2 separate regions of the Homo sapiens genome follow, and region 1 is linked to region 2. Evidence: promoter capture Hi-C in 16 types of primary human blood cells and fetal thymus (Javierre and others, 2016). All regions are on one chromosome and are shown on one strand. The core of a region is centred on a gene start or on the middle of the fragment in contact, and the rest is flanking DNA. Distances in the headings are between cores, read along the strand shown.

Evidence for each region. The method cuts DNA at HindIII sites, captures the fragments that hold promoters and counts their contacts. A CHiCAGO score of 5 or more calls a contact.
Region 1: a fragment that was not itself captured here is called in contact with the fragment with the promoter of LINC02108 in region 2 in 1 of 17 cell types (M2 macrophages); the score reaches 5.9 in M2 macrophages.

What each region holds. Positions count from the first base shown.
Region 1 is chr5:58,495,961-58,502,365 of GRCh38, reverse strand. GAPT (GRB2 binding adaptor protein, transmembrane) reads right to left here. Exons shown (of 3, transcript NM_001304431.2): 3 at 5,276-6,405. Among named protein-coding and RNA genes, the nearest start is that of GAPT, 7.7 kb to the right of the region's middle. The HindIII fragment of the contact is 942 bases long and covers 2,384-3,325 here.
Region 2 is chr5:58,554,938-58,561,894 of GRCh38, reverse strand. LINC02108 (long intergenic non-protein coding RNA 2108) reads left to right here and starts at 3,652. Exons shown (of 4, transcript NR_109904.1): 1 at 3,652-3,709. The HindIII fragment of the contact is 10,011 bases long and covers 1-5,369 here.

The DNA.
Region 1 (6,405 bases), core at 1,605-4,104, 59 kb after region 2:
CAAGTCCTCTAGCCTGCTGCCTAGCAGGCCCTGGACCCCTTCTTGCTGCTACATACACAGTGGTGCATTTTAGAGCTTCTCACTCAGAAGCCAGGGAAGAGGAAAAACACACTGTTTTCCAAATGTGACACCACCTGGCTTCAGGGACTGGGAATCGCAGTCACACACTGTTTGTTTGAGTCAGGTATTGATGTTGAAGATGCCACTACTCAGGACAGCAGTCCCCTCTTGCCTGTGGTTTCACGTTCCTAAGTTTCAGTTTTCAGTGGTCAACAATGATCCATATGTATTAAATGGAAATTTTCAAATAAACAATTCAATAAGTTCTCAATTGTGTGCTGTGCTAAGTTGTGTGATGAAATCTTGCCTCATCTCACTTTGTCCTGCCTGGGATGTGAATCATTCCTGTGTCCAGCATCTCCATGCCATAGATGCTTCCTTTCTCTTTGTCACTGAGTGACAGGCTTGGTTATCAGATTGACTGTCACATTTCACAGTGTTGGTGTTCAATTCATCCTTATTTTACTTTAAAATCACCTAATGCACAAGAAGAGTGATGCTGGCAATTCAGATATGGCAAAGAGAAGCTGTAAAGTGCTTCCTTTCAGTGAAAGGTAAAAGTTCTTGACTTAAGGAAGAAAAAAGTTGTATCCCGAGTTAGCTAAAGTTGATGGTAAAAATGAATTTCTATCCGTGAAGTTTTGAACAGAGTATTGGCGTAATTGTTCCATTTTATTATTGTTGTTAATTTCTTACTATGCCTAGTTTATAAATTAAACTTTATCATAGATACAAACATATAGAAAAAATATAGTGTATATACACATCCACTGGAGGTGCAGGAACATTTTCCCCATTAATAAGGGAGACTACCATACTTGGTATACTGATACCATGATATTTTGAGGTTGATGTTTATGACACTTGAACATTTTGAATGGTTAAATTTTTAAAATTATTATTAAGTAACCTATGCAATGGATATCCTCCCTTTATCTCTGAGTCTTCTATTCCATCACAGTTCCATCTCTATTTCTGAGTGACACTCCAATCTTGACCCCAATCCATTAGTTTGGCCCATGTTGGATTTCAGATATCTGAAGGACATCAGGTAAAAATAAGTAGTAGATGCTGAGCTATATGGTTAAATGCTTCAAAAAAATATTGGAGCAGAAGAGTTCAAATACAAATGTCTTGATCACCGAGGGAAAGAGGAATAGGAAAAGGAGCTGGGAACCAAGGAAAGATCATGAAGAACCACTCCACTGAAGGTTGTACAAGAGAAAAGCAAGCTTCAAAGGATGTTAAGTGGGGAAAAAGAGGGAGCAAGAGTACAATACCAGAAAGTGATCATGTAAGGTAAGCACTAAAAATTAAATATTAGACTTGTCACTCTCTGAATTTAAAGAAAAAGTTATTACGGCTTAGAATAGCAGTTTAACATGTGTCTGCTTGGGCTGCTATAACAAAAGACCATAGATTGGGTGCCTAAAACCATAGACATTTATTTATTACAGTTCTGGAGTCTGAGAAGTCCAAGGTCAAGGTGCTGGCTGATTTGTTTCTTGGTAAGAACCCACTTTCTGGCCTGCAGATGGCTGCTTTCATGTTGTGTCCTCACATGGTGCTGGGAGGTGGGGGCAGGGGGTGGTGGAAGGAAGGGAGGAAGAGAGAGAGAGAGAGAAGGAGAGAGAGAGAGAAAGAGAGAGAACTCTGTTCTCTTATAAGAGCACTAATTCCATCATGAGGGCTGCACCCTGATGACCTCATCTAAACCTAATTATTAATTCCTCTCAAAGCCCCACCTCCAAATACCATCACGTTGGGAAGTAAGGCTTCAACGTATGAATTTCAGAGAACACAAACCTCCAGCCTGTAACAATGTGGATACAGGCATCACCTCCCCTTTTTGATTTCTTTTAGCTCTCCTCCTTGGAGCCCAGTATCCCAATCTGCCCACAGGCCCTGGTCAAAGAAGTAACTGAGAGGTTGTAAAGCAAGGCTTTCAATGGGCTTATCAGGGATCCAATTGTTGTGGAGATCAATAATAGGGTGAGAAGTGAAGTATAAAGCAAATTGCAGTAAAATGTTTCATGTTGGAGGCTGAAAGCAAGGTCAAGACATCAGGTGCTCATTGTTGCTGGATGCTGGCCAGTCTTGAACTGGCTGTAAGTCATGGAATGTGAACACACCTAAGTGTGTCTGTAACAAAGTCATACTCAGTATATTCGATGCTACTGTCTCTTTTCCCCCACCCCCAACATCCTTCCTTTTAAATTGTTTACATGTGGTTCCTTTTTTAAATAGTGTAACCCAAACGAGAAACTGCTGCTTTCAACTGATGCAGACAGACTTTATCATCTTTATTTCCTGTGCACAAGCTTTACTTTTGAGATTTTGAGAAGGCAAAGAAATGCTGTAATAAAGAATGCAGATAAGAGATAGGAATTTGAAGGCAAGAGAAAGATAGAGTTAGAAAAAAGAGAAGAAAGAGGTGGAGGAAGCATATTGATGAAGGAGGAGAAATGAGAGAGGGAGGGAGAGAAGACAGGATAGGAGAGGGGGTGAAGAATGGAGGGTATGTATAGTAAAAAGAGAAACTTGAATGATGTATTTCTTTATTCCCCTCAGCAATTGATAAAGAACTTACAATTAATTTTAAAAGGAAGTCAAGGTAAGAATTAGGTAAAGAACCATTGACTAAATACTTCTTTTACTATCTTTTCTGGTCAAAGAGAGTAAACAAACGTCAAATATTCACTACATCTCTTGTTAAATGAAATTTATGCGAGTCCATTGATTAGATTAGTGAGCTTTTGCACTAGATTCCAACAGACCAAATGTAAATGGAGTCACTCAGGCCAAAGCTCCATCCCACCAAACTGAAACTTGTTTATCTGACTTTCTGAGACATCAGAAGAGAGATAATAGCCAAATCCCCAAACAGACCAGTTTTAGCCTGAATGATAAGGAAGTCCCCTGTGCTTCAGTAATTGCAAGAAAAGTAACCTAAAGTAACCTGATGTTAACCAATCCTCTTTTTTATATTATACTGTTTTATCGTCCTTGCTTAAGTTGCCTTATGAAAATGGACTCTTCTGCCAAGCCCAATGGAGTACCTGTTTAAACCTTCAAATGGGATGCTGCCAGATTTATGAATTGCTGATAAAACTAGCTCAATCTTTAAACTTAATCTATTGAAATTTCATCTTTTGACACTTTGGATAATCAATTATAATGGACAAATGTCAATACATCACATATTTTACAACACAAACCACCATTCTTAGAGATCATAGGACTTTACTTCTTTTACATTTAAGCTTTTACATTTACATTAGACTGGAGTGGCTGTAGCGCAGATAAACACATTGACAATGCTGCCCATTCTTCAAGAAAATGGCACAGGACTTACTGATGAACTCAGTGTGTGTGTTTGGTAGGGAAGGGGTAAGACTGGGAGTGTGGGAAAGAGAAGAGTATACAGGGATAATTGCAAAGTGCTTTACAGAGATGAGGAAGACTTACAGAAGGAACAGGTTTGGAGGCTGTATTAAGAATGAGTTGAGCTGTCAATGATAGAAAACTACACTCCATGGGCTTAGACACTGATAGTCCATTCATTTCACCTAACAAGGAACCTGCAGTTAGGCTTTTGATGGCTAATATCAGCTCAATGATGCCATATAGAGATCTCCTAACTGGCCACTCTTTCTCAGCCACCTATACCAGAGTCTCCTCATTAATTTATCCTCAAAATACTACAATTTCTGGAAAACTTCTAGATTCCTCCCTTTCCTCCTTTCTTGATTCCCGACTCTGTGCTCCCCCTGGTGTCTTCCCAGGAGATGGCATCCATTCTTATTCCTGTAAATACCACCTAAATGCTCATGACTGTCAAATTTACATCTCCAGCCAGGACCTCTCCTCTAAAATCCAAATGTGCACATACAACGGCAAACTGGATATTTCTACTTGGGTCTCAGGACATATTTCAGGAAATGTCAAAATAAATATGTTCAAAACTGAGTTTTGCCCTTGTCGCAAGAATTAGAGGTTGACTGAGTCACATTCTATTTTCAACTCCACTTTTCTTTTTCTGCCCACTCTATGAGGTTACCAAAGGTAAAAATTCAATTGTCCATGCACTCCTACACCAGATGGTGTCTGTGTGACACAATTCTGAGCAATGAGATAAGTAGATATCTCCTGGTTCTGCTCTTTCCCCTCATTTCTTCTTCATGGCTGAAGCATGAATAGAAGGCTTAAAGATTCAGCAGCTGTATGGTGGCCATGAGGCAATAGAGATGAAGATAAAAGTTGAAACACTAAGGGTGGCAGAGAGGAAATAGAGAAAGAGCCTGGGTCTTTCTATATGGTATCATTGAGCTGATGTTAGCCATCAAATGCCTAACTGTAGCCTCCTTGTTAGGTGAAATAAATGGAACTATCAGTGTCCAAGCCCCTGGAGTGTGGTTTTCTGTCATTAGCAGCCCAACTCATTCCTAACTGATGTGGCCTCCAAGCCTGTTTCTTCTTTAAGTCTTCCTCATCTCTGTAAAGTACTTTGCAATTATCCCTGTAGACTCTTCTCTTTCCCACACTCCAGTCTTGCCCCTCCCCTATCAAGCACACACACTGAGTCCATCAGTAAGTCCTGTGCCGTCTCCTTGAAGGACAGGCAGCATTGTCAATGTCTTTATCTGCACTGCAGCCACTCTAGTCTAACTTAAATGTAGAAGCTTCTTAGCTATCCTACCCACTTCCATTTTGGCCTCTTTCCAGTCACTTCTCAACCCAGTAAATCTTTTAAAAATGCTAGTGTCATCATCACGTCTCTGCTTAAAACCCTTTACTGATTCCCGTTGCACCTATAATAGAGTCAAAGCCACGTACTAAGACTTATGAGAAGCTCATGGTCTCCCATTCCCTCCTTCACCAACGCAGCAGGTGTCACTCCAACCCTTCCTCAGGAAACTCCAGCCACAATGGCTTCCTAGAGCACCATAAATTCTCTTAGGCCCCAGATTCTTTTCACGGGTGGGTCCCATTCTTACTCTCTGCCCATCACATTTATTATAGCTTCCTTCTGCCTTCAAGTCTCAGCTTAAATGGTCTCCAGTGAGGCCTCCTTTGACCACCCTATTAAAATTAAAACAGTCTCTCCTACCCAACCCCATTGGTTTCAAAAACAGAAAGAATTTTTTATAAAGCACCTACTACCATTTTGATATGTATCATCCCGGGTACACTTAGAAAACAGAAACCATATCAATTTGTTTTAACAGAGAGAATTTAATATAGATAATTGGCTAAACAGGCATTGGCAGGATGGAAAAACAAAAAAGGGGACACAGGTACCACAGAGATAGTAACTGTAACAATCTTGGCTGAGAGTTACCAGACCTCAGAGGAGGAGCCCTGCCAGGCTGGGACGCAGAACTCTGAGGGTACCACTTGTCTCCTGCACCACTTCAGGAGGTTGAAGGAGAGTCTGGCTGTCAGAGTCTAAGGGAGGGTGCCACCTGGCTGGTGCTGGTGCTTCTGACAGGTTGCAGAGAAGCTGGTCCTGGGAATGATGGAAGAAACTAGAAAGCTGCAAACAACCAGTGATGCTGGAGTAAACCACATGGCAATAAATTCCTGCGGGGGCAACAGAAAGAATAGGCAGGAGCAATTCCCTGTTGCCTCCTACTGCCTTTCGGTCTTCCTTAGTGCCCCCTATTGGTAGAGAATAGAATGGATCCACCTGGCAAAAGAAATGTTTGCAGAGGCCCAGGTCAAGCAATTCAGAGGAGCAAATAAAAGAGTGGATTTAGAGATGAGCTATCATAGCTTCATGAGCAGCATCGTATTCATTTGTTTACTATGTTTTCTTTCCTACTAGACTGTATGTGTTCAGGATCCATGTCTCTCTTTTTAATTTTGTAACCCCTCCACCAACCCATGTCCCTCAGGTGCACAGCACAATAGCAAGTAGATAGAAGACACAACAAATATTCCTTGTATGGATGAATAACAGATGAATTTATTAGATTTTTTTCTCAAAACTACTCAGCAAAATGTACAATTCAATTCCCGTCAGTAAAACATGAGGCATTTAGTGCCTTATGTGATGTTCTAGGCATTTGGGCAGTTTCTTTTCATTTAGGTGGGAATTTAAGACATTTTCATATGAAGCTAGGTAATAAAATGCTGTGGCAACATTCATATGTTTAAATGTCCTAAGAATTGAAGAGGCATCAAAGCTTATATCAGAAAATAAAAAGGTAAATGCGGGTTTGGAGTGATTCAGGAGATGTGTGGAAGAACTTATGATCTGAAGCAGGCTTGAGAGAAGAGGCAGAAAAGCAAAGCTGTGAAGGAAGGATAAGTTTGGCAGGTTTTAAGATGATTCTGCTGAAG
Region 2 (6,957 bases), core at 2,403-4,902:
ATGCTGTTTTCAATCTTATTTTGTACTTCTTTGGTCGAGGGTGGGCTAGTAAGACATTTGTAGGTGGATCCGTCCTGCAATGATTCATAAATTTATGTATAAAAAATTACAAAGGTCTTTCAGTATTATTGCATTAAGTTTTGAATCATACTGTTGTTCCTTATCAATTCCCTTGAAACTGATTATTAGAATCCTGGTGGCAAATTTTAGTAGCTTTCAGGTTCCAAAATAATATCTCCATATTTTAATTTTATGGTACCAGAGAGTCTGGAACTAAAGAAGAAAAATAATCATTAGGGTTAATATTTATTTATTACTTTGTTTTCAGAAGGGACTATACACCTTCTGGCAAAATGTTAGTGAGTTCCTAGAACAATTATGATGCTTGCTGTGGATAGACAGAGGACCAATTTCATATTAAGACAAAGCAATATAAAAAAAACAAAATGTTATTAAAGTCATAGACCATAAAAATTTACTACATAGTTACTATGAGTCAGCAGGTACTAAGAGCTGATTCTATGGCATCAAAAGACCTACATGCAATTTCAGCTACTCCATTTTTAGAGCAGAAATGTTGATTCACCATTTGGCTCCTGTAAACTTTTATGTTCCTACTTGTGATAGAGGGTCAGCCATAGCTTCAGGGCTATTTTTGAATGTATGCCACTATAAAAGGCCATACTAAAGGGACTGATGGTCAGAGGCACTAGGATGGAGCTGGGTGAGCTTGGACAAGTTGAAAATATTGAACTTCTGTAAGCCTCAGTGTCCTTGTCTGTAAAATATGAGTAATGCTAATAACTACTTCATAGGTATTACCATTATTTTTGCAGAATTGAATGAAGAAATGAATGTACGCGGAAATGCTTTTCAACCTGTAAAACAAATGCTAGCCAGATCGTGTTAGTATAGAAAGTGAGTGAATCTACAACTGAAAACATTGTGCTGTCTTTGGATCTTAATAAATTTTCATATTCACCAGTGAATTGTGGAGAAAAACAATCCTAAGGAAGGCCATATTCTAAGTCATGTTTTTAACCTGATTTTAAAACTACTGCCTTCTATTGTGAGGGATCTTCTTTTCACATTGGACATGTTGGGGTTGTTCCAGGGTATACGCCAGTATTTTTCCTGCCCTCTCTCTGCTACCTCCCTAGGCAATCTCATCTGCATCCTAGCTTCAATTTCCATTGATACAGTAATGCCTCTTAGATCCATATTTTGAACCTAGATCATCTCCTCTCCTTTAAACTGGCATAGCTAACTGCTGACTGGTGATCTCCAACAGTATGCCCGTAAGTACCTCAAACATAGTCTTCCTCTGCTCCACACTTAATCCTTCTTATTTCTCATCTTTGTGAATGGTCCCATCATCCACCTACTTATTTAGGTGAGAAATCATGTTTTGACAATGACTTTCAATCTCCATCATTCCTCAAATTCAATCAATCACCACGTATTGTTCACTCCACTGTCTAAATATCTCTCCAATGCAATTCTCTCCATTCCCACTGCTTTCACCCAAACTAGGTCACCATGATTAGTCATTTGAATTATTTCTTCTAGTTCCCAATCTTTATTTTCTCTCAATCAATTCTCCACATTGCATTCTGAATGATTTTCCCCAAATCTAAAAGTGATCAAGTGTTATCTATACTAAAAACCCTTAAGTGGCTTCTGTGTGCCCAGCAACTTGACATGACTCTCAAGACTTCATGATCTAGCTTCTGCTCATTTCCATAGTTTTTATCTCTCAGCACTCCACCTTCACTCTCTGTGCACCAGTTTTGCAGAAGTTTCTACCAGTCTTCCATTGTACCATGCTCCCTCTTACCTGTAGCCTTTAGCACAGGGTAGGTATTCTGCTAGAAATGCTTTATCACTGTACTGCCTGCAACACGCATGTGCACACACACACTTTACTTTCTTAATTCATACTCAGTTTTTCAACTCTCAAATTAAACTTCAGTCTTCCAGGAAACTTTTCTTACTCGTAACACTCTGAAGTCTAAGCTAGGTATCTGTACTTTTACCTTCATAAGGCTGTCTTGTAATCACTTAGCTTCTCCTGTAACATTTCCACTAAACCATACAATTGGTAGGAACAAGGCCTGAGTCTGTCTTGTGTATCCCTTGCTTCTCATATATTAAGTCAGGGTTCAACTAGAGTAACGGAACCAGTAAGAAATAGATGTTAAGTGATTTATTGCAAGAAATAGACCTAAGTGATTTTGGGGACTGGCTGGACAAGTCTGAAATCTGTAGGGCTGGATATCAGGAGGGACAGTTTGGAACTTGGGCATGAGTTGAACTGAAGTCTGCAGATATTGAACTCTAAGCCTCAGTGTCCTAGTCTGTAAAATAGGAATAATGCTAATAGCTACCTCATAGGGCTTGCTTTTCTTCTTCAGGGAAGCCTTAGCTTTGCTCTCAGGGCCTTTAAATGGACTGAATAAATCAAGCCCACTCAGATTATGTAGTATAATCTCCCTTACTTAAAATCAATTGATTGTGGACTTTAATAACACACAAAATGCCTTCATGGCAACACTTGGATTAACATTTGATTGAATAATTAGGGACTGTGGTCTAGCCAAGTTGACAAATAAAACTAATCATCACATCTTCATATTAAGTATAGAGTGGGCACTCAGTAATTATGAGTGAAATGAACAGACACCCAGACTATTTTGTTCAACAAGAGCATTTGCTGGGTACATCTGAAGTGTTCCACTTTGTACTACTTAATGCAGCACTATCATATTATTTATGTCTTTTACTTATCAAAGTTTGTGATTTTTTTTTCCTCTTGGTACATCTGAAAGAAAGAAAATTATGTGCCCCATGCTATTTATGACCCCTCAGATTTCCTTAGAAAGAATACATTCAGGCCAGGTGCAGTGGCTCACACCTGTAATCCCAACATTTCGGGAGGCTGAGTTGGGAGGATCACTTAAGCCCAGGAGTTTGAGGTTACAGTAAGCTATGATTGTGCCACTGCACTCCAGCCTGGATGACAGAAGACCTTTTCTCTTACAAAACCAAAAAAGAATCCTTATCAATTCATGTCATTAAATGTGACAAATGTTGAGCTTCCTGAGGTTGGGGCTGCATGTTAACATTTGTGTGCTTTCTCAGCCTTACCACAGTGTATGTGTGCAGTAATTGTTCAATGCAGCTCTGTTGTAAAAAACTAAACCTACTAAGATTTCTTTAAATGATCAATTTATAGCATTTCCTATTGCATTTATGAATACTTGCAATTGATCTTGGACTATTATAATAAATGCCTTAAAAGAAGTGAAAATATACATTTGGGAGTAAATGAAAGATTTTTTCTCCAGCATCAATGCAATATAAGATTACATGTTATAATTAATAAATGTGAAATAATGTTTAATGTAAACATTATATATGTGAACAATACTGTGAATACAATGTGATGCTTATCAAAATCAGCTAAAATAAATGTTTTTAAGATTACATATTATGTGACTTGATCAGAAGAAGGAGGAAGGAAGTTTAGCATATTTTATCAATTCTAAGATGTCATCAATTGATTACGAGATACATCATTATTTTATTTACCATTAAGAACAAAAGAAAAGGGGGGAGGAGCCAAGACGGCCGAATAGGAACAGCTCCGGTCTACAGCTCCCAGCGTGAGCCACGCAGAAGACGGATGATTTCTGCATTTCCATCTGAGGTACCGGGTTCATCTCACTAGGGAGTGTCAGACAGTGGGTGCAGGCCAGTGGGTGCGCGCACGGTGCGCGAGCCAAAGCAGGGCGAGGCATTGCCTCACCTGGGAAGCTCAAGGGGTCAGGGAGTTCCCTTTCCGAGTCAAAGAAAGGGGTAACGGACGCACCTGGAAAATCAGTTCACTCCCACCCGAATATTGCGCTTTTCAGACCGGCTTAAAAAACGGCGCACCACGAGACTATATCCCACACCTGGCTCGGAGTGTCCTACGCCCACAGAGTCTCCCTGATTGCTAGCACAGCAGTCTGAGATCGAACTGCAAGGCGGCAGCGAGGCTGTGGGAGGGGCGCCCGCCATTGCCCAGGCTTGCTTAGGTAAACAAAGCAGCTCGAACTGGGTGGAGCCCACCACAGCTCAAGGAGGCCTGCCTGCCACTGTAGGCTCCACCTCTGGGGGCAGGGCACAGACAAACAAAAAGACAGCAGTAACCTCTGCGACTTAAATGTCCCTGTCTGACAGCTTTGAAGGGAGCAGTGGTTCTCCCAGCACCCAGCTGGAGATCTGAGAACCGTCAGACTGCCTCCTCAAGTGGGTCCCTGACCCCTGACCCCTGAGCAGCCTAACTGGGAGGCACCCCCAGGAGGGGCACACTGACACCTCACACGGCAGGGTATTCCAACAGACCTGCAGCTGAGGGTCCTGTCTGTTAGAAGGAAAACTAACAAACAGAAAGGACATCCACACCGAAAACCCATCTGTACATCACCATCATCAAAGACCAAAAGTAGATAAAACCACAAAGATGGGGAAAAAACAGAACAGAAAAACTGGAAACTCTAAAACGCAGAGCGCCTCTTCTCCTCCAAAGGAACGCAGTTCCTCACCAGCAACGGAACAAAGCTGGATGGAGAATGACTTTGAAGAGCTGAGAGAAGAAGGCTTCAGACGATCAAATTACTCTGAGCTACGGGAGGACATTCAAACCAAAGGCAAAGAAGTTGAAAACTTTGAAAAAAATTTAGATGAATGTATAACTAGAATAACCAATACAGAGAAGTGCTTAAAGGAGCTGATGGAGCTGAAAACCAAGGCTCGAGAACTACGTGAAGAATGCAGAAGCCTCAGGAGCCGATGCGATCAACTGGAAGAAAGGGTATCAGCAATGGAAGATGAAATGAATGAAATGAAGCGAGAAGGGAAGGTTAGAGCAAAAACAATAAAAAGAAATGAGCAAAGCCTCCAAGAAAAATGGGACTATGTGAAAAGACCAAATCTACGTCTGATTGGTGTAACTGAAAGTGATGGGGAGAATGGAACCAAGTTGGAAAACACTCTGCAGGATATTATCCAGGAGAACTTCCCCAATCTAGCAAGGCAGGCCAACATTCAGATTCAGGAAATACAGAGAACACCACAAAGATACTCCTCGAGAAGAGCAACTCCAAGACACATAATTGTCAGATTCACCAAAGTTGAAATGAAGGAAAAAATGTTAAGGGCAGCTAGAGAGAAAGGTCGGGTTACCCTCAAAGGGAAGCCCATCAGACTAACAGCGGATCTCTCGGCAGAAACTCTACAAGCCAGAAGAGAGTGGGGGCCAATATTCAACATTCTTAAAGAAAAGAATTTTCAACCCAGAATTTCATATCCAGCCAAACTAAGCTTCATAAGTGAACGAGAAATAAAATACTTCACAGACAAGCAAATGCTGAGAGATTTTGTCACCACCAGGCCTGCCCTAAAAGAGCTCCTGAAGAAAGCGCTAAACATGGAAAGGAACAACCGGTACCGGCCACTGCAAAATCATGCCAAAATGTAAAGACCATCGAGACTAGGAAGAAACTGCATCAACTAACGAGCAAAATCACCAGCTAACATCACAATGACAGGATCAAATTCACACATAACAATATTAACTTTAAATGTAAATGGACTAAATGCTCCAATTAAAAGACACAGACTGGCAAATTGGATAAAGAGTCAAGACCCATCAGTGTGCTGTATTCAGGAAACCCATCTCACGTGCAGAGACACACATAGGCTCAAAATAAAAGGATGGAGGAAGATCTACCAAGCAAATGGAAAACAAAAAAAGGCAGGGGTTGCAATCCTAGTCTGATAAAACAGACTTTAAACCACCAAAGATCAAAAGAGACAAAGAAGGCCATTACATAATGGTAAGGGATCAATTCAACAAGAAGAGCTAACTATACTAAATATATATGCACCCAATACAGGAGCACCCAGATTCATAAAGCAAGTCCTGAGTGACCTACAAAGAGACTTAGACTCCCACACATTAATAATGGGAGACTTTAACACCCTACTGTCAACATTAGACAGATCAACGAGACAGAAAGTCAACAAGGATACCCAGGAATTGAACTCAGCTCTGCACCAAGTGGACCTAATAGACATCTACAGAACTCTCCACCCCAAATCAACAGAATATACATTTTTTTTCAGCACCACACCACACCTATTCCAAAATTGACCACATACTTGGAAGTAAAGCTCTCCTCAGCAAATGTAAAAGATCAGAAATTATAACAAACTGTCTCTCAGACCACAGTGCAATCAAACTAGAACTCAGGATTAAGAATCTCACTCAAAGCCGCTCAACTACATGGAAACTGAACAACCTGCTCCTGAATGACTACTGGGTACATAACGAAATGAAGGCAGAAATAAAGATGTTCTTTGAAACCAATGAGAACAAAGACACAACATACCAGAATCTCTGGGATGCATTCAAAGCAGTGTGTAGAGGGAAATTTATAGCACTAAATGCCCACAAGAGAAAGCAGGAAAGATCCAAAATTGACACCCTAACATCACAATTAAAAGAACTAGAGAAGCAAGAGCAAACACATTCAAAAGCTAGCAGAAGGCAAGAAATAACTAAAATCAGAGCAGAACTGAAGGAAACAGAGACACAAAAAACCCTTCAAAAAATCAATGAATCCAGGAGCTGGTTTTTTGAAAGGATCAACAAAATTGATAGACCGCTAGCAAGACTAATAAAGAAAAAAAGAGAGAAGAATCAAATAGACACAATAAAAAATGATAAAGGGGATATCACCACTGATCCCACAGAAATACAAACTACCATCAGAGAATACTACAAACACCTCTACGCAAATAAACTAGAAAATCTAGAAGAAATGGATAAATTCCTCGACACATACACTCTCCCAAGACTAAACCAGGAAGAAGTTGAATCTCTGAATAGACCAATAACAGGATCTGAAA